Linked DNA regions of Homo sapiens: regions 2, 3 and 4 are each linked to region 1. Evidence: promoter capture Hi-C in 16 types of primary human blood cells and fetal thymus (Javierre and others, 2016). All regions are on one chromosome and are shown on one strand. The core of a region is centred on a gene start or on the middle of the fragment in contact, and the rest is flanking DNA. Distances in the headings are between cores, read along the strand shown. Region 1 holds the start of BMP2 (bone morphogenetic protein 2). Region 2 overlaps PLCB1 (phospholipase C beta 1). Region 3 overlaps HAO1 (hydroxyacid oxidase 1). Region 4 has its middle 76 kb from the start of HAO1.

The links. The method cuts DNA at HindIII sites, captures the fragments that hold promoters and counts their contacts. A CHiCAGO score of 5 or more calls a contact.
Region 2: a fragment that was not itself captured here is called in contact with the fragment with the promoter of BMP2 in region 1 in 1 of 17 cell types (total B cells); the score reaches 7.4 in total B cells.
Region 3: a fragment that was not itself captured here is called in contact with the fragment with the promoter of BMP2 in region 1 in 1 of 17 cell types (endothelial precursors); the score reaches 5.0 in endothelial precursors.
Region 4: a contact is called between a fragment that was not itself captured here and the fragment with the promoter of BMP2 in region 1, in 1 of 17 cell types (endothelial precursors). The highest score is 7.7, in endothelial precursors.

What each region holds. Positions count from the first base shown.
Region 1 is chr20:6,764,774-6,769,671 of GRCh38, forward strand. BMP2 (bone morphogenetic protein 2) reads left to right here and starts at 2,913. Exons shown (of 3, transcript NM_001200.4): 1 at 2,913-4,102. It overlaps LOC105372517 (a long non-coding RNA gene), which reads right to left and starts at 2,711. Exons shown (of 4, transcript XR_937229.2): 1 at 2,548-2,711; 2 at 1,627-2,032; 3 at 1,079-1,235; 4 at 820-896. RefSeq lists promoters at 1-3,967, 2,777-3,418, 2,808-3,967, cis regulatory regions at 1,881-2,671, 2,678-2,777, 3,418-3,592 and silencers at 2,857-2,906, 2,997-3,046. The HindIII fragment of the contact is 17,330 bases long and covers 1-4,898 here.
Region 2 is chr20:8,717,776-8,722,673 of GRCh38, forward strand. It overlaps PLCB1 (phospholipase C beta 1), which reads left to right. Exons shown (of 32, transcript NM_015192.4): 14 at 1-73; 15 at 4,579-4,646. Among named protein-coding and RNA genes, the nearest start is that of RNU105B, 110 kb to the right of the region's middle. RefSeq lists silencers at 3,347-3,641, 4,643-4,692. The HindIII fragment of the contact is 1,995 bases long and covers 1,407-3,401 here.
Region 3 is chr20:7,928,584-7,933,481 of GRCh38, forward strand. All of the region lies in intron 2 of HAO1 (hydroxyacid oxidase 1), which reads right to left. Among named protein-coding and RNA genes, the nearest start is that of HAO1, 9.4 kb to the right of the region's middle. The HindIII fragment of the contact is 2,565 bases long and covers 595-3,159 here.
Region 4 is chr20:7,861,947-7,866,844 of GRCh38, forward strand. No RefSeq gene overlaps it. Among named protein-coding and RNA genes, the nearest start is that of HAO1, 76 kb to the right of the region's middle. The HindIII fragment of the contact is 2,686 bases long and covers 536-3,221 here.

The sequences.
Region 1 (4,898 bases), core at 1,663-4,162:
AAAAAGCAAAGAGGGTTTCTCAGGGCAGTTGCCACAGGTTTCCATGGAATGACAATTACAAGGTAGATGGATCACGTAATGCCTGCTGTGAACTTTACAATACATGGGGATCACTATTTTAATGTTGATTTGCATAATGTTTGGCCTAGCAAGAACAATACTGAATGCTAATAGCTACAGAATGCAATAAAATGGAATATCATGTGAGCTGAAGTGCTAAAATTGCTAAAGTATGACTGTAAGCAGTTAATTTCATCCCGAGTCTTGTCCACACACAATCAAATGCAAATTTCCACTATCTCCTGAGAAACTGCCAAGAGATGACTGAAATGGAATAGCAACAACCTCCTTTATGTGGAATCATTATCTGGTCATCTTTGCTTTTTTACATAACTTGTCTGTACCCTCTGATGCATTTGAATTTGCAACTTCTACTATCCCTATCTTAAACAACTCCCCACTCCCACCTCTGCCCCTTCCACATTTGCTGGCAGATGCACTAAGTCTGATAAACTCAGCAAGACTGAATCTCACCCTCTGAACTGAAAAACTTTGAATGGACCTTTGAAAACGGTAGAATTGACAATGGTTAGCTGCAAGTGATATTTTCAAGGCAAACAGACACTCTCCCAAAGTATTAAATAACCCAGCATTCTAAGTTGCAGGTGGAAGGTAGCCATTAGTGAAGAGAGAGAAAAAAAAAAGAAATAGCTCGTCTGTATTTAGATTTATCATTTCTGACTATTGCTCTTCCCTGGAAAACGGGTAGGTACAGTCATCCTGTACTTCGATCCCAAATCAGTCTCTGGAGACTACTTATTTATTTATTTATTTATTTATGGACTTCTTTCTTTCAAGCGTTCGAACTCATTTCCACCACAAGAGGGCAGCCATCTCTAAAAAAAAAAAAATAGGGCCAAAATTTATGTAAGTTGTGCTTGGAACAAGCATTCAGTAGTTCCTCAGAAATCATACACCCTACATAAAAGAGATTCTGCAATGGGCAGCACTAACATGAAACAGTGTTCAGAAGTACCCATTTTCCCTCAGATTCTAAACTGACAAGGTTTCCACTTACCAGGTTATGAAGTTCTAAAGCTGCAAGACATCCTTGAGGTCATCACAGGATATTTATTTATTTTTTCTTCGGGTGCATCCAATAGTTATCAACTTTTCCTCCTCTTTAAAAGCTACTTAAATCTCATTGAAGTTTTGTTTTGTTTTGTTTTTGAAATCTAAGTAATGAGAGAAACAATTGTTAACTTCTCAATTAAACTTGATAGGAAAGGAAATAATTTCAGAAGCCCTGTGTCCATGAGTAGGATATGTTTTATTGCCTCCTTGTTTGCGGTGCAATGACTCTGAGTGACAATCAACTTCTATAGCACCTTTTTTTTTTTTTTCAGGAAATAAAGTAGCATGTTCCTGAATAATTCCCCCACCCCCTTTTATTTTCCTGGTAGTCAGGCTTCCTCCAAAATACCTTATTTGACCTTTATACCTTTAGAAACAGCAAGTGCCTAATTCGCCTCTGTGGGTTGCTAATCCGATTTACGTGAGCGGAACCTAGTATTATTTTAGCTCCCCTACCGAAAAAATAATACACATGGATAATAGTTCTATTACCAGCTCCTGCTTCTGACTTTTTTCTCTCTGTTTCGCAGGCCCGATAGCTCTGGGAAAGCAGAACTTGGCCTTTTCCAAAAATTTTCTGCCCTTGGTTTTGGGGATCATTTGGGCAAGCCCGAGGTGCTGTGCATGGGGGCTCCTGGAATCCTGGGAAGGGCAGAAAGCCTTGGCCCCAGACTCATCGTGCAGCAGCTCTGAGCAGTATTTCGGCTGAGGAGTGACTTCAGTGAATATTCAGCTGAGGAGTGACTTGGCCACGTGTCACAGCCCTACTTCTTGGGGGCCTGGTGGAAGAGGGTGGCGTAGAAGGTTCCAAGGTCCCAAACTGGAATTGTCCTGTATGCTTGGTTCACACAGTGCGTTATTTTACCTTCCTCTGAGCTGCTAATCGCCTGCCTCTGAGCTGGGTGAGATAAATATCACAAGGCACAAAGTGATTGTACAATAAAAAAATCAAATCCCTCCCATCCATCCTTCAGTCTGCCACACACGCAGTCTACGTTACACACATGTCACGTAAAGCAGGATGACATCCATGTCACATACATAGACATATTAACCGAAATGTGGCCCTTCGGTTGCATATATTCTCATACATGAATATATTTATAGAAATATATGCACATATTTTTGTATATTGGATATATTTATGTAACTATAAATTTACATGCGTATGGATATGAAAATAAATGCATACACATTTATGTAAAAAAATTTGTACACATGCATTTACATATGTAAATACATACATCTCTATGTATTAATGTTTAAAAACACTCAATTTCCAGCCTGCTGTTTTCTTTTAATTTTCCTCCTATTCCGGGGAAACAGAAGCGTGGATCCCACGTCTATGCTATGCCAAAATACGCTGTAATTGAGGTGTTTTGTTTTGTTTTGTTTTTTGAAATCGTATATTACCGAAAAACTTCAAACTGAAAGTTGAATAACGGGCCCAGCGGGGAAATAAGAGGCCAGACCCTGACCCTGCATTTGTCCTGGATTTCGCCTCCAGAGTCCCCGCGAGGGTCCGGCGCGCCAGCTGATCTCTCCTTTGAGAGCAGGGAGTGGAGGCGCGAGCGCCCCCCTTGGCGGCCGCGCGCCCCCGCCCTCCGCCCCACCCCGCCGCGGCTGCCCGGGCGCGCCGTCCACACCCCTGCGCGCAGCTCCCGCCCGCTCGGGGATCCCCGGCGAGCCGCGCCGCGAAGGGGGAGGTGTTCGGCCGCGGCCGGGAGGGAGCCGGCAGGCGGCGTCCCCTTTAAAAGCCGCGAGCGCCGCGCCACGGCGCCGCCGCCGCCGTCGCCGCCGCCGGAGTCCTCGCCCCGCCGCGCTGCGCCCGGCTCGCGCTGCGCTAGTCGCTCCGCTTCCCACACCCCGCCGGGGACTGGCAGCCGCCGCCGCACATCTGCCGCCACAGCCTCCGCCGGCTACCCGAACGTTCTCGGGGCCAGCGCCGAGTGGATCACCGGGGACCGCGAGGCACCCGCGCGCCGCAGACCCCGCGCGGGCTGGAGCACCCGGCAGAGCGCGCCACAGCGCCGTGGCCTCTGCTGCCCGGGCTGCGCCAGAGCCGCGGACGGGCGCGCAGAGCGCCGGGGACTCCGGAGCCGATCCCTAGCGCCGCGATGCGGAGCACCTACTGCAGGAGATCGGGGGCCTGGGACGCGCTGGCCGAGGTGTGATCGGACCCCAGGCTAGCCACAAAGGGCACTTGGCCCCAGGGCTAGGAGAGCGAGGGGAGAGCACAGCCACCCGCCTCGGCGGCCCGGGACTCGGCTCGACTCGCCGGAGAATGCGCCCGAGGACGACGGGGCGCCAGAGCCGCGGTGCTTTCAACTGGCGAGCGCGAATGGGGGTGCACTGGAGTAAGGCAGAGTGATGCGGGGGGGCAACTCGCCTGGCACCGAGATCGCCGCCGTGCCCTTCCCTGGACCCGGCGTCGCCCAGGATGGCTGCCCCGAGCCATGGGCCGCGGCGGAGCTAGCGCGGAGCGCCCGACCCTCGACCCCCGAGTCCCGGAGCCGGCCCCGCGCGGGGCCACGCGTCCCTCGGGCGCTGGTTCCTAAGGAGGACGACAGCACCAGCTTCTCCTTTCTCCCTTCCCTTCCCTGCCCCGCACTCCTCCCCCTGCTCGCTGTTGTTGTGTGTCAGCACTTGGCTGGGGACTTCTTGAACTTGCAGGGAGAATAACTTGCGCACCCCACTTTGCGCCGGTGCCTTTGCCCCAGCGGAGCCTGCTTCGCCATCTCCGAGCCCCACCGCCCCTCCACTCCTCGGCCTTGCCCGACACTGAGACGCTGTTCCCAGCGTGAAAAGAGAGACTGCGCGGCCGGCACCCGGGAGAAGGAGGAGGCAAAGAAAAGGAACGGACATTCGGTCCTTGCGCCAGGTCCTTTGACCAGAGTTTTTCCATGTGGACGCTCTTTCAATGGACGTGTCCCCGCGTGCTTCTTAGACGGACTGCGGTCTCCTAAAGGTAGAGGACGCGGGCCAGGGCCCGGGGTGGGTGGTGGGTGGGAGGGGGATTTGGGCAGCCACTGCGGTAGAGCCCTTCCTTACGTCCAGGCCAGAAGTAAACAGACCCCTCTCCAGTCCACGTGCAACGGAGCCCTGCAGGGGCTCCCACTTCCAGCTGCCCCGGGCGACCGTAAGCCTCACCCTCCCGGCCCGCACTCTTCCACCCCTCTTTCTTCCCCTCTCCCTGGAATACTTTTGGAGCTGTTAACACTTAGATGAGGTGTTTTATTTATTTATTTATTTATTTTTAATTTTTTTAAAAACTTTTTTGGGTCAAAGAAATCCCTTTGAGAGGGTAGCCCCTGGGTTTCACCCGTTAGCTGAGAACCTGTCCGCTCTGCCATGGTGATCTCCATTCTTCAAGTGTTTCCGGGAGACTTGGTTTCTTTGCTCAGAGCCGTGTCCCATTTAGGAAAGTACTAGGAGTTTGGGGTTCTCCCTACTTGTTTCCAGAAATGCGAGGGGTCAGTACTGAAGGATCACTTGGTACTGTGTTTTTAACAGCTGACACGTGCATTAATAGATATTCACCATTTACGTAATCCCGGGAAGATACATGTGTATCTTGACTGCACTGTGGGGATGCGGGATGGAGCTGCCTTTCGAGACACCCCTGAGGGTAGGGGCCTGGGACACAAGTCATAAGTGGCTTCAGAAGTTGTGGCCTTGAGCTTACAGGGTCTGGAAGCTATAAGGGTGTGTGTGTGTGTGTGTGTGTGTGTGTGTGTGTGTCAGGAAGTTCTATACAGTGCCTC
Region 2 (4,898 bases), core at 1,154-3,653, 2.0 Mb after region 1:
AAGCTCTCAGAACAAGCCTCCAACACCTACAGTGACTCCTCCAGCATGTTCGAGCCCTCATCCCCAGGAGCCGGTGAGGGGCTGGTGGGCTCTCCCCGTCATGTTTTGTGTTGGTTTAAGAATTGCTGCTCTGGGCTGTGCGTGGTGGCTCATGCCTGTAATACTACTACTTTTGGAGGCTGAGGCAGGTGGATTATGAGGTCAGGAGTTCGAGACCATCCTGGCCAACATGGTGAAACCCCGTGTCTTTGGTGGCCAACATGGTGAAATCCTGTCTCTTGCAAAAATACAAAAATTATCTGGGCATAGTGGCACGTACCTGTAGTCCCAGCTACTCGGGAGGCTGAGGCAGGAGAATCGCTTGAACCTAGGAGGCAGATGTTGCAGTAAGACAAGATCCAGCCACTGCACTCCAGCCTGGTGACAGAGTGAGACTCCGTCTCAAAAAAAAAAGAATTTGCTGCTCTGAAATTAGCTTAGAAGGACTTTGAACATTCCTATTTCTGCACAGTTTTGAACTACTGGTTTTCTCTTGCTGCTACAAACTTAGCGGCTTAAACCAGCACAAATGTATTATCCTCTAGTCCTGTAAGTCAGGAAGCCCCCTGGGTTTCACTGGGCTACACTCCAGGTGTCAGCCGGGCTGTGTTCCTTCCTGGAGGCGCTAAGGGAGAAGCTGTTTCCTTGCTTTTTCCAGCTTCTAGAGGCCACCCACATTCGTTGGCTTGGGGCTCCTTCCAGCTTCAAAGCCAGCAAGGCTGCATTTCACTAACCTTTCTCCTGTGGTCACATCTCCCTCTGACCACAGGCAGGAAATGTCCTCTGCTGGCAAGAACTCAAGTCATTACATTGGATCCATCCAGATAATCCAGGATAATTGCTCCCATGTCAAGGTCTTTAACTCCATCTCACCTGCAATGTCCCTTTTATCATGCAAGCTAACATATTCATGGAGCAGAGACATCTCTGGGAGGTCATTATTCTGGCTACCATGTAAGCCAAATAGTCTTCAGAGTGACCATATGACTTTAAGCTTCATAATGGGAAATATTAACTATAGAACTGAGCACTGGATGCATTGTCATTGATGATATGCTGAAGAGTTCTGGGCATTTCAATTTTTTCATGTTTTAAAGAACTTTTTAAAATCTGTGACATGGCAAAATTACTTAAATTATCTTTTGAAGCTCCTAGAGGATGCCTAATATCATTTCTTTTCCTTTTAAATTAAGGGTGAAATAGATTGCTGTGGTTGATGAGAAAAGAATTCAGTGGCACTCATTTCCTTGGGATTATTTGTCATTTAGTCTGATTTATCTTCCAAGTTCAGTCAGAAGCTTGGCAATCTGAAAATCGCATTATAGACATCTCCTGATTGCAGGGTGATTAAGTGGAAGAAACTTTTAAGCTTGACTGTAGGAAGTTTTTCAGTTATAAGTTAAACATAGGAACAATCAATTGGAAAACTACTTAGCAGTGTCTACAAAAGCTGAATATATGCACTCCCTGTACCTCGGGAGTTCCATTCCTAGGTATATGCTTGCTAAAGATGTGTATTTAGGTTTACCAAGAGACACGTACAAGAATTGCTTAAAGCAGAGGTATTCAGAATAGCCAAATACTGGACACCAAATACTCGTCAACAGATAAATGAATTATGGTATATTCACACAAAGAAAGAATATGCAGCCATGAGAATAATCTATAACTAAATGAAAACTATGGATGAATCACTATAAATAAACATAATATTGAGCAAAGGAAGTCAGGTACACAAAAACTACATACTGTATGATTTAACCTATATAACACACAAAAACAGGCAAAACTAATTTATGCTATTTATTAGAAGTCAGGATAATGGGTTCCCTTGGAAGAAAAGCAACCAGCAGGGAGCCCAAGAGCCTTCTAGAGATTGGTTATATTTTGTTTCTTGATCTGGATATCATTTACTCAGACACGTTTATTTGGTGAAAATTCTTTGCACTGTGGACTTACGACGTGTACTTTTCTGTACGCCTGTTATACATCAGTTATAAGATTTTAAAATAATTAAAATATAAACTCTAGGACAATCAGGGTTAAAAAAAAGTAGCCTGAGACTCTGATTTATCTTTTCTTCTATTTTTCTGTCTCAATTGCCTGTTTTTTTATTGTTTCGATTAAAATCTTTATCAACAGACGTTATATAATTCTTTGAAAGGGTTTTGTCCTGTAGCTTTTGAATGTGTACTTTCATCATTATTGTGCATGTCTTTCAACATTTTTTCAAAAATAATTTCTGTACTCAGTAAAAATGTTCTCTTTGAAGTTTGGAAGTGAGTATCATTAACAGGCCTTTCATTCACACCTATTTCCTAACACAACTCTATCCGTTGAATGATAGCAAGCAAACCTTGTCTTCCTTTGCATGTGGGTGCTTGTGTTTTTTACCATCTGCCTTTCCCACTACCAGTTCTCTGCCTCTTATTAACAGGATGCATAACACAAATGACGATTTTTACAGGCAGTGAACATTATTGCTTAATATAGAGAAAGGGCAACAATCTGTTAGTTATTCAGTAGATTTCCTAAGCTAGCCCTGTTGTCTATTATGCAATCAGTGGAAACTTTTGGACATTTTAATATGTAGGTACCTGAATAAAGAGCACCGCTAATTTACCATTTGGTTCGTAGATGTTCACAGTACTGGGAACTCAAGTAACTTGAAAAACGTGACAGGTATTGTATTTCAAAGCTAGTTTACTTATCATGGCCCCTGTTGGCCAGATGCCTCTTGCAGGATTCAGCCCTTTGCTAGTAGACTTGTCCTAAGGAACTAGGGTAACCTAAGATATTTTTTATAGTTCAACAAGATTCCCCCAACATCCCTCCAAAGATTTACAGGAGAAAAATCAGGTTTCTGCTTTTTACAGTAAAGAAAGACAAATTCTTTCTTTCCCACAGACACTAAAGAATGACCTGATTGGCTATTTGAAATGACTGCGAATTGTTGGGTCCCATGAAGTATTTTATAGAAAGCTCTGCCAAACAATTTTTTAATTATTTAATTAAAAGAATCCCCTCTCTGATTTTTTTTTTTTAAAAAAAAAAGGTAATAAGAACTTGGGACAAAAATTTCATTATAAAAATGCTTAAGTGGCAATACCCTAAAAGAATGTGTCTCTAATATTGTAGTAAGATACGTTTTCTATCCAAAATATAATCGATTCACCTTATTAACTAACACAATATCAGCATTATAAAGTGGTTGTATGTGGCTTTCCTTAATAAACAATCCAATACATAAAAACCCTTGCTGGTCCCAGAAATCTTTTTTCCCCTGGAGATTTTTAAGCAATACTTTTTTCACTACTGTCATTCAGTAATTGAACTGTGTCAGCCAAATGAAAACTTTTATAAGCTTCTCAGAGGACAGTGCAGTGGTACTGTCTCCATTTATATAAATCGAGTAGGGCAGCTAACTTTCAGAAGGCTGGCAGTGGGCAGGGGTGCAAGTTACTTCATTGTTGAACCATTATTGCCATCTATTGGGCTCATCGTGCTATTGCATTGTGTGAGCCCTGAAAGATAGTAGTTAAATCAATTTAGAACTTTCGAACCATTTAGAACAACCTCGCTGACTTTTTACTTGAAAATCTTTTTTATATAACGGATATTTCTGGGTCTGACTGAAGCCCATAGCTATGGAAGAATGTAATGCTTCATACTGATATGAATATTTAACCTAGCAGAAATGTCCATTAATTCTTCAGGGGAAAAACAATTCATTTAAATGAGTGTATATTGGCTACATATGAAGCTGAATTATTTCTGATGGAGTTAGATTTCCAATCATGCTGATATTTAAGGACTTACCCATGTTATCCTGCCCTCTTAAAAATAATATCAGCATTTTCTACGATATGCACTTCGTTGTGATGACAATACATCCATCAAATAAGCTTGCAGACAAATCATAGGATAAAGTTGGCCCTTCACGATTTTTATGTAGTGACTTTGCTGCCAAAGCCCCAGAGTTCCTGCCCCAGCTCCTAACTTCTTTGACTTCTGCAAGGTCCTCTCTGGCCTTGGGAAAAATGTCAACACAAGATCACTGAGCTATGTGCTGGCCACGCATTGCATGGAAGAGTCGCGGCTTGGGAAAGGAGGGAAAGATGAAGGAGGGATAGATAGTATATCTGTTTTCGGGGTCATAGAGACCCTGAGAGAGTGTTTGTATATCAAAATAGAATACATGTACCATAGAAAGCAAACTGTATTAAATGCCAGCAAACTGTTTTCAATGCCACGTGTTTAAAAACATATAGAGAAAAAATATTGACACGCATTTTTTAATAGAATTTTGAAATTTTAAGTGCTATTTATTAACAAATCCAGTTTAGGAAAAAATCTATATTCAAAATGTCAGTATAATTTTCTATAACGAATAAAATTTAAATCCTTGAAAAAAATAATTTTAAACAGCCCAACTTCCAAGGAAATCTGTAATTGATTTTAGGTAAAATATGTGTTACAAATGCTGTAAAGCTAAATGTTGAAATGGTGACATGATGATCTGTTATTAAAATTTGACAGGAGAAGCTGATACGGAAAGTGACGACGACGATGATGATGATGACTGTAAAAAATCTTCAATGGATGAGGTGGGTACTTAGGGCTTCTGGTCCCTAAGGCATTCCACCACCCTGTACTCTCCTGGGTCTGTCTCATGGTCACTTTCTGCCATCTAGTGGCAAAAAGTAGATTTGTGCCTTCCAATTGCCAGCTTCAATTTTTGAGGCAATTAAATGGCTTATGAAATGTTCCACAATCCGGAGAAGATATGGCGTTTAGAAAAATGATCAGAACTGTGACATTCATTGCATTGTTTTAATTTTGGAACACTAGAGCTACCT
Region 3 (4,898 bases), core at 627-3,126, 1.2 Mb after region 1:
ATCACACCTAAGTTCTGTAAGATCCCTGGAAACAACCCCAGCCTCCTTGGGACGTGGCATTCAATCCACTGGTCTTGCTCAAGTAGCTCACTTTATCAATGAAGAAACATAATCCTAGAAAGTGAAAATGACCTGCCACAGAAATAAAACTAGTTCTCGGTAAATTTCCACATAAATCAGATGTCCCAGATGTACAGCCTAGGGGACACTTGTAGCCCACAAAAGTATTTACTTTGGCCCACACATTGTTGCCCCAAACAGTGTTTTAGGGAATTTTGATTTATTTGCCCACATTTAAAAACCAGGAGATTGTACATAGAAATCAAGATTTCTGGCTTCTTAAAATTTTGGAAGATTTGGCAACCCCACATCCCTGCTCCCTTGGGTCATCAAGAGCTAAGATGTGGCTGCCCCCTTCTGATGGAACATGCAATCTCAGACTCACTGCAGTCTCCACACAGGAGCTTGCACTGTTTTTTGTTTGTTTGTTTGTTTGTTTGTTTGTTTGTTTGTTTCAATTTCATCTTTTTTGGACATTTACATTACAAGCCTGGCTCCTAAAAGTACCTTTTTTTCCCTGAGGTTTCTGCATAAAGCTTAAAATAAAAATATTTTTCACAAAGAAAAAGAACAATTTTTATTTCCACTAGATGTAAATGGAATATACTTTTCTGAAAGTGAGTTTTTGTGTGTGAAAGATAAAGATTTCAGAGACTTTGGGCTCTGAGGGGCAAATAAAGATAGTGTGTAAGCATTTCTAGCATTTATTTCATGAATCCTCACAAGAAATCCTCAGGTGAGAGCTCTTATTCATCCAGGGTTGCCAGATTGAGCAAACATACAGGACACCTATGATTTGTTGTTTATCTGAAATTCAAACATAATGGGCCCTCTGTGTTTTATTTGATAACCTTGTATTCATCATCATTTTGAAAATGAAAAAAGTATAGCTTCATTGGTCACTCTACAAACATGCAGCAGTGTAAAAAAGTAGAGTTCAGACAGGGCGCGGTGGCTCACGCATGTAATCCCAGCACTTTGGGAGGCCAAGGCAGGCAGATCATGAGGTCAGGAGATCAAGACCATCCTGGCCAACATGGTGAAACCCTGTCTATACTAAAATACAAAAAATTAGCCAGCCGTCGCGGTGCGTGCCTATAGTCCTAGCTACCCAGGAGGCTGAGGCAGGGGAATCGCTTGAACCTGGGAGGCAGAGGTTGCAGTGAGCTGAGATAGTGCCACTGCACTCCAGTCTGGTGACAGAGCAAGACTCTGTCTCAAAAAAATAAGAGTCGAGCTCAGTTCTCGGTCCCAGTTAATAAGGTGGATTATTATTATTCCACAGTTGTGAGAGGAAGGGCAGAAAGGCCCTTGAAGTTGGACTCTGAATAAATCTGGAGAGTCAACGGGGAAAATGAGACTATGGCACCATAGCAATTCCCAGAACTTTCTGGAGGCCCATTCTAATTACTCAGGCCAGACCATTGCCTGTGGGCACCAATGGGTTTCACTTACTCTCACTGACCCTGCTGAGGGGGACACTTCTCCAGGGAGATTGATAACTAACCCGTTTTCTGAACCTGGCCCCAACTTCTCTTCCTTGCTAGGGTCTAAGTCCCTGGAGACAGGAATGCTTAGCGGCCAGATATTTAGGAGGGTAACAAAAAAAAAAATACTCCACAACAAATTGCATAGATTTCCCAATATTCCCAAGGACTGGCTTGCTTGAGAGGATTTCCATATTCTTTCTGGGAATGATGGAATAAATACAATAATAACTTCATAATTCCATGTGAATTTTCTGAGTTTTTATAAATAAATCTCTGCCAAGTATGAATATTCTTACACTGTTACTTAAATTTGCCTGTGGCTATCTATAGCCTTCAGTTAGCTATTATCCTGGTTTGCATACTTCAAGAAGCCAAAAATGACACAGAGATGTGAGAGCAAGTCATCTTATTTGGAAACAATCTCAATGAATTGAAGGAATGGGGAAGTGAGAAAAGAATGGGAAGGAAGCCAATAAAAGAGGGTGTGTTCATGGGCAGGCAACCTCAGGGGGCAACTGGGACTCAATCCTTCCAAGGAACACTGGGTGACCATATTAGAAAATGCTTCAGTTACCTGAGCAAAGAGAGCTGAGGTATTTATCCACCTACTGCTGTACATCATTAGCTAGGGAACCCTCTCTCCCATTCCCCTACTTCAAACACACCTATCCATGGGCTCATGTTGCAACAGATAATGTCAGGCAAAAAGTGGTAGGTCTGATGGAAATGGGAAGTAAGAAGGGAATACATGCAGAGCACAAGCACCATCTACTCCAGCCATTCATCCTTTCCTTGCAAGTAACCCACTGTCCCACAACATAAACACACCAGCCAAAGAACACCTGCTATGAGCTGATGACCATCAGCTTTCTGGATACACCTAAATATTAAATAGACTAATAACCTATAGATAGTCTTTAAAACATAGGTGAAAACTTAGAAACCCTGGAGAGAGGTTTCTAGTATAAATACAGAATAGAAACTCTGATGTTGCTGCCCTGATAGGAACCCAATGGAGGACCCTATGTTTTTGAGGGCAACATGTGTACACTTCCATTGCCTTCTCCAATTCCTCTGCAATCTCGATGTCACCACCCTCTCTTTGTTCTGCTGGATCCACCTTATCCAAATGTCTATTGTGTAACTTATCTTCCTGAGGGGTCTGCTTTGCATGCTCCTAAAACTATAATTACTTCTAGGGGATCATAATGGGCTTCTCCTCATGACACTTCATAGGAGTTTCTGAAATTAAAGCTCTTGCAAAGTGGTGAGGAGCCCAGATTCTGGAGACAGAATACCTCTGTCTGAATCCCATCTCTATCACTTATGAATTGTGCATCCCTAGGCAAGGTTATTCACCTGGCGTGTACCTCAGTTTCTCCTGTGTAAAATAGGTTTAATAATATGATCGATTTATTTGGGCCGCTCTGAGCCTTCAATGCTATAATACTCGTAATATACTTAAAATAGTGTCTGGAACATGATAATTGCTTTATAAGTGTTAAATAAATCTAAGGGGATAAGACTGTAATAGGCATTTAATATCTTCTTATGGTTACTTCTGGAGGAAATAGTCCTACTTACACTGTCAAATCATAGTTTCTAAGGAAGCTTTCTTTTCTTCTTTCTTCTCCTCTTTCTTCTCAGCCCAACTCCACCAAGAATAAAGACTGGTCTTGGAACCATCAAATGTGACTTGGAGAATAAGTCTGTCATTGACGAGCTATGAAAAACTGTTTTCTCTGGAACTTTAGCTACTTGCCCACAAAACAGGGACAGAAACACCTGTCAAATATCAAATAAAGCAATATGTGTTGGTATGGTTAGGCTTTGTTTCTCCATCCAAATCTCATCTTGAATTATAATCCCAGGTGTTGAGGGAAAGACCTAGTGGGAGGTGATTGGATCATGGGGGTGGTTTCCCCCATGCTGTTCTCATGATAGTGGGTGAGTTCTCATGAGATCAGATGGTTTTATAAGTATCTGGCATTTCCCTGCTTGCACTTCTCTCTCCTGCCACCATGGGAAGAAGGTCGTTCCTTCCCCTTTGCCTTCCACCATGATTGTAAGTTTCCTGAGGCCTCCCCAGCCATGTAGAACTGTGAGTCAGTTAAACCTCTTTCCTTAATAAATTACCCAGTCTCGAAGAGTATCTTTAAATCAGTGTGAGAAGGAACTAATACATGTGGTAAAAATAATTTGCTGGCTCCAGGGTGCCTTACCAAGTGAGCTCTGCTTTTTGCTTTCTCTGCTTCCTTTCTTTATTTCCATTCTCTTCATGGTCCCTTGTCCCTTTATCTCTACTCTTTTAAATCTAATTGTTATCATTTCCTCCTTACAAAATAATTCAAAGAAGAGTTTATAAGGTTGAGCCAAAAATCAGAAGAGTATAAAGTCAGGAGTAATCTCATCACTTATAAATAAACATTTGTAAATTGTGATCTTTGAAACTAAATGTATTTTAGGACCTGACTATTGTTTGCAACTGATTTCTCACAATTTTAAATTAAAATATCATTCTACATTATTGCACTCTTCCTATAGTATAATTTTTAAATTTGATGTCATTTTTATGCATCATATTTTTTGCAAACTATCTCCAATTATAAGATGTTTGGGTATTTTTTTCAAATTATTTTCCTGCTAAAAATAAGAAGCATGAAAATCCTTGCAGAAATGATTTTTTTCCTCAAAAATCATAATTATTTCCTTGGAATTCCTAGAAGAGAATTTTTAACATCACATGGAATTTACATTTTTAGAGCTTTGATATACAGTGCCAGATTATTTTCTAGGAAGATTATTCCACTTTATACTTTTCTCAACACTGTTTGAAATGCACATTTTCTCCCTAACCTAATCATACTGCCTGATCTTAAAATAAAAATTCGATATACGGAAAATAAAATAGATGGTCATAATTTCCATGTCTTTGCTTATTAATGAAATTGAATATTTTTCATATGTTTATTGGTCACTTTTATGTCTCCATTTGTAAATTTCCTATTTATATCTTTTGTTCACTTATTTCTCTTTTTCCCTTTGAGCAATATATTATTTTCTTCTTCAAATATAAGGGCTTTTTACGTGGAAAGGACATTAACCCTTCACAGTCTCATATTTTTTTTCCATTTCTTTCAGTTTACCATTTACTTTTTATTTTCATTGAGATTTAAGAGCACTAAAGTTTTAGTTTTTTGATGTTCATTTGTTTTCTTTTGTTCTAAGGTTGTTGCCTATAGTTTCAAGCCTGAAAGGGCCTTTATTATCTTGATTTTGTATAGATATTTACCCATTTAGTATTTCCCTTTTTTTTTCTTCTCTCTACTTATGTTTCAGGATTACCAT
Region 4 (4,898 bases), core at 629-3,128, 1.1 Mb after region 1:
TTATCTAATCAGTGGTTTCCTTGCTGCTTCCCAAGGTCTCTAGTCCACTATTAAAATTTGCCTATTTAACAATTATTTTCTATATGTCTGTTATGTAAGGTATTGTGCTAAAAATAAACTCAGGTTATTGTGGTGAATCGAAAGACAAAGGAACTATCCTAAAACAGCTCACCATCCTAGGGAGGATATATAGATACATAAAGTCAGAAATTATGGCACAATAGTATCAGAATGATGATGGGAAGCTTCAGGAGCACAAGAGAGGAAGGCAGGGTCACCAAAGGGAGGGGTATAGAGCATGGTCAGTAAGAAAAAACAATTATGAGGGCATAAGCATTAACCTGGTTTATGTCCACTAACCATCCATTCACCAGGTTGATTGAGGAAAATGGGCAGTAAGAGAAGAAAATATGAGCAAAGCCCTAAAGGCTTAGAAGTCTTTGGCTTTCTGTAATCTTGTAATTAAAGCTTCGCCACATGATGAAGATTATGCTTGGAAAATATAAAAATTCAGTAAAACTTTTTAAAAATTCAAAGCTTGATTTAATTGATCTGTAGCTATCCATTTGAAGTAATCCATTTGGTGTTAAGTGAAAACAGAGAGGCCAAACTTTATCTAGAGAAAATGCTATCCCTAAATGACATAATTACTTGGTCTTTAATTGGGGAAAATACTTTGGTATTAGAGTGACATTCAAGAAAACTGAATTTTCAGAGAATGTCGTCAGTAGGGTAAAAAGTAAAGTGTGTTAGTCTTCATAACCTTTCTAGTTCTGACATTGTACATTTGAAGGTAGAATCTGACCAGACTGATTTCTGATAGATGTTGTTTTAGAAATAGATAGTTACTCTTACTTTTTATGAATTTCCTGCAACAGAAATATCTTGAACATTTAGTCATGCCATTTCTTTGCATCGAAGTTCATCATTGGTAGAAAAAATATCCATTCATTCAGCAAGTCTTTATTTACTGCCTACAATGTGCTGCAATTCAAAATCCTCATTCGTATTATGTACTTGAGTAATAACTCTCATCAGTCATATAAAGTCTTAAGATGTACACAAAATTTCTTAACCAGTAGCTTAATTGCTTAGGTAAGCTCTCCCTCAGACCTCAAAAGCTGTAATGAAATGAGAACTAAAATGTTGCAAAGCTAGCCATATTTTTGATCTGTGCCATTTTTAAGATGGTGTTTCAATAAATATTATTCTTTTACCATGCCATAAATTCACCTCTCTATAACTTTAATAGCCTAGTCATAATTTTATCGTTCTCAATTTTAGTGAATTTGTATGTCTTCAACCATCAGTATTTGCCCTTCCAAAATATTTATAATAAGTAATTCAGAAATAGATTCTTCACACCTACAATGATCTGGTCTTCAACAAATTCGACAAAAATAAACAATGGGGAAAAGGCACATCAACAAGAAAAAAGAATCCCATTAAAAAGTGAGTTAATGCCACGAATAGACACTTCTCAAAAGAAGACATGCAAGTGGTCAAGAAACATGAAAAAAATGTTCACCATCACTAATCATCGGAAGGATGAAAATCAAAACCACTATGGGATACCACCTCAAAACAATCAGAATGGCTATTATCAAAAAGTCAAAAAATAACAGATGTTGGCAAGGTTGCAGAGAAAAGAGAATGCTTATATACTTTGGTGGAAATGCAAATTAGTTTATCCACTGTGGAAAGCAGCTTGGAGATTTCTGAAAGAATGAAAAATAGAATTGCTACTTGACCTAGCAATCTCATTACTGGGTACACACTCAAAAGAAAATAAATTCTTCTACCAAAAAGGCACCTACACTTGTATGTTCATCACATCTCTATTCACCATAGCAAAGACATGGAATCACCCGAGATGCCCATCAGTGGTGGATTGGACAAAGAAAATGTGTGGTACATATACGCCATGGAATACTACACAGCCATAAAAAAGAACAAAATCATGTCCTTTGCACCAACATGGATGCAGCTGGAGGCCGTTATCCTAAGTGAATTAACACAGAAACAGAAAACCAAATACTGCAAGTTCTCACTTTTAAGTGGGTGCTAAATATTGTGCACACAGAGATACAAAGATGAGAACAATAAACACGGGAGATTCCAAAAGGGAGGAGGGAAAAAGGGGAGAAAAGAATTGAAATACTACCTACTGGGTACTATGTTTACTGTTTGGGCAATTCTTCTACAGCTATTTAGCTAGAAACAATTTCTTCAGGTCCTCGTTTCTCCTCTGCAGTAATGCAGCATGGGGCTGTGTGAGATATCCTTTCATGTGGATAATGTATTGCTTTGGGCAGAAGAAAGCACTCCTACAATAAATCCTCTACGTGAGCTGCTCCATAAGGAACTTGAAAAACTGGGCAAAACAATGCAAGAAGCAAGCATGAAACTTGAGGTTGTTATCACTGCCAACACACAAAGTTAAATACATGCAACTATTACCAAGTATGTCTGCCCAAGCTAGTCAATGGACCAACTTCTCACTCACTGTATTTTATATTTATAAGCCAAGAGAGAAACACAACAAAAAAAAATCTCACCCTTATGTTTAGAAGGCAAGAACAGAGGACAAGAAAAAGGTAAATTTTGACTAATATTCGCTATTTATTTTGGGTAGTTATTGTTAACTCTTAGAAGTTAAATCAAAAGAAATGTGGGATTCCACCTGTCTTGGGCAGGGCTAGGGAATGTTCACTCTCATTTTCATTATATCCTCTTTGAAGCTACATTCGCCATGTCCTCAATTTTCATTACATATATGTCATGCACTTCCAAAACTGAACCTCATAGTGGCCAGAGAAGCAGCATGTTGAGAGAGACTCACTGATGGGCAATTGCTTCATTACCTCCTACCCACTTGATAACTACAGAGATTTTGTTCAAGTCCACTCTGTGAATTTCACACTTACAGATTCGTAGCCAACTTAATTCAGTGCTAATGCCCTCTATAAATCTGCTTGGAAATCTTGACTAGTCCTGAACCTACATATCATAGTCCTTAAGTCCCACTAGGACTAAGAACTTGACGTACAGAATGAAATGCATTCCTCATCTGCAACTCCTGCCCTCAATCCCACATCTACAATAGTCTCCATCGACCCCATGTTGTTTCTTAGAAAACTGGGTAGAGGATAGTACCTGCTACAGGGAAGATGGCTGAGCTCCATTCAGAGGCTCTTGTCATGTCTGTATGCCCATCCACAAGCTTTAGTGGACTTTGTTTCACATGGCTTGCACCTGTGACTCCATTCAGAAGACTGATCTTGGGCAACTGGAGCCACTTTGCTGCCCAGGGAGTCAGAAGTACCTGGGAATTTACAGGCTTCAAGGATGACCAACAATTCCAGTTTGCTTAAGACTAAAAGATATCTCAAGATAATTTAGTGTGAAAGCAGGATGGTGCCAGGCAAACCAGGACAGCTGGTCACCCAGTGCACCCCCCACACCAAACTCCAAAAATGGACAGCCCTTACCCTCAAATGGGAACGAACTTTTGGGTAAAACTATACCGCAGAGCTCCTTGCAGGACCCAGCTGAGGCTGGGCATTTCCTTTGCTTGTCATCTTCCATTCTGTGTCTGGTTTCCTCCCTCTCACCTCCCCATGTCTGCTGGAAGTACTTCCTTCATGAGTCTTAGGCACCCATTCTCATCACAGGGGAACATTTCTGGGGATCCCCACTGAGGACACCTGCCTCTCTATGAATGTTAGAAAATTGCATGATGTATCTACCACTGAAATCCATAAGGCAGTCACAAATTTCACTTCAGCCAAATTTTTGAGCCTCCTCTCCTGAAACAAAACTGATAATGGAAATATTGGCAAGTAGAAAAATCCCTCATCTTGTTAATTGTTTTTGTGTTGTTTCCATAGCCTCAGGTCAACCTAGCTGTGGCAGTGATGGCAGCAGAGGGTGAAAGCAGTACTGATGGGCCAAGAAAAAGTAAAAGGAGGAAAACAGAATTTAAATAATAAACCCAAGTGATCAAGACGTGATTATTTCTTCTACAGTGGGGCTTAAAGGCTATTTTTCCTGAAATAAGACTAAAATCTAGAGTACATTTTTAAAAAATAATTTGCTCTACTACGATATGTAGTAATGTATTGATATTATTTATATAGACTTTAAAATATGTTTAGAAACTGTAACTCTGTAAAATATTAACCTGAACTGGAATGGCCCTCTTTAAAAAATATATAATTTTTTTTAAACTCTCCTTCACTGACTTGCTCTTTCAATGAACCACTGAGGTCACTATATGATGAGGAGCAATTTGCAATAATTTACCAAAATAATAATAAGGTAGCTCTATATCCTGTGTGTTTGATTTTTTTAAAAAGGAGTTTCCCTTTCAGGACCCCATGAATGTACAAGGTTCAAACAAAGTGCGGGGAGCTAATGAACAGACTGTGTTTTCCTGTGCCGGGCCCCTGTACAGAATGACTTCATTCAGGGCTACGGCTCGCGCATGGAAAGTGCTGGTAAAAAATCCCACAGAGTTCAGACGACCTTTTCCTAACTTTCGTTTTTTTTTCCCTTGTTTGCCTTTCGGGCCTAAGCCAGGGAAAACATAAATATTCATCAGCTGATATTTGCAGTAGCTGTGAAGTTATGAATGAGGCCATGCGGCTTTCCTCCTATCCCATCTACAGAATGGCAGCTTCTCCACTCAGCTCCCAGCCAAACGACACTTTCCGAAATCCCCAAAGTGTACTAGAAGGCTTTTCAAATTCAGTCTTTTTTTTTCCTTTAATGCTCAAAGCAGAAATGCTGTCTGCTTAATGTTTACCCTAGGATTATAGAAGAAGAAAAAGAAAAACATTGCTTTGCCAAGCTTTAAACTTTCAGATGCCTTGACGTAACAGGCAAATATGCTAGCA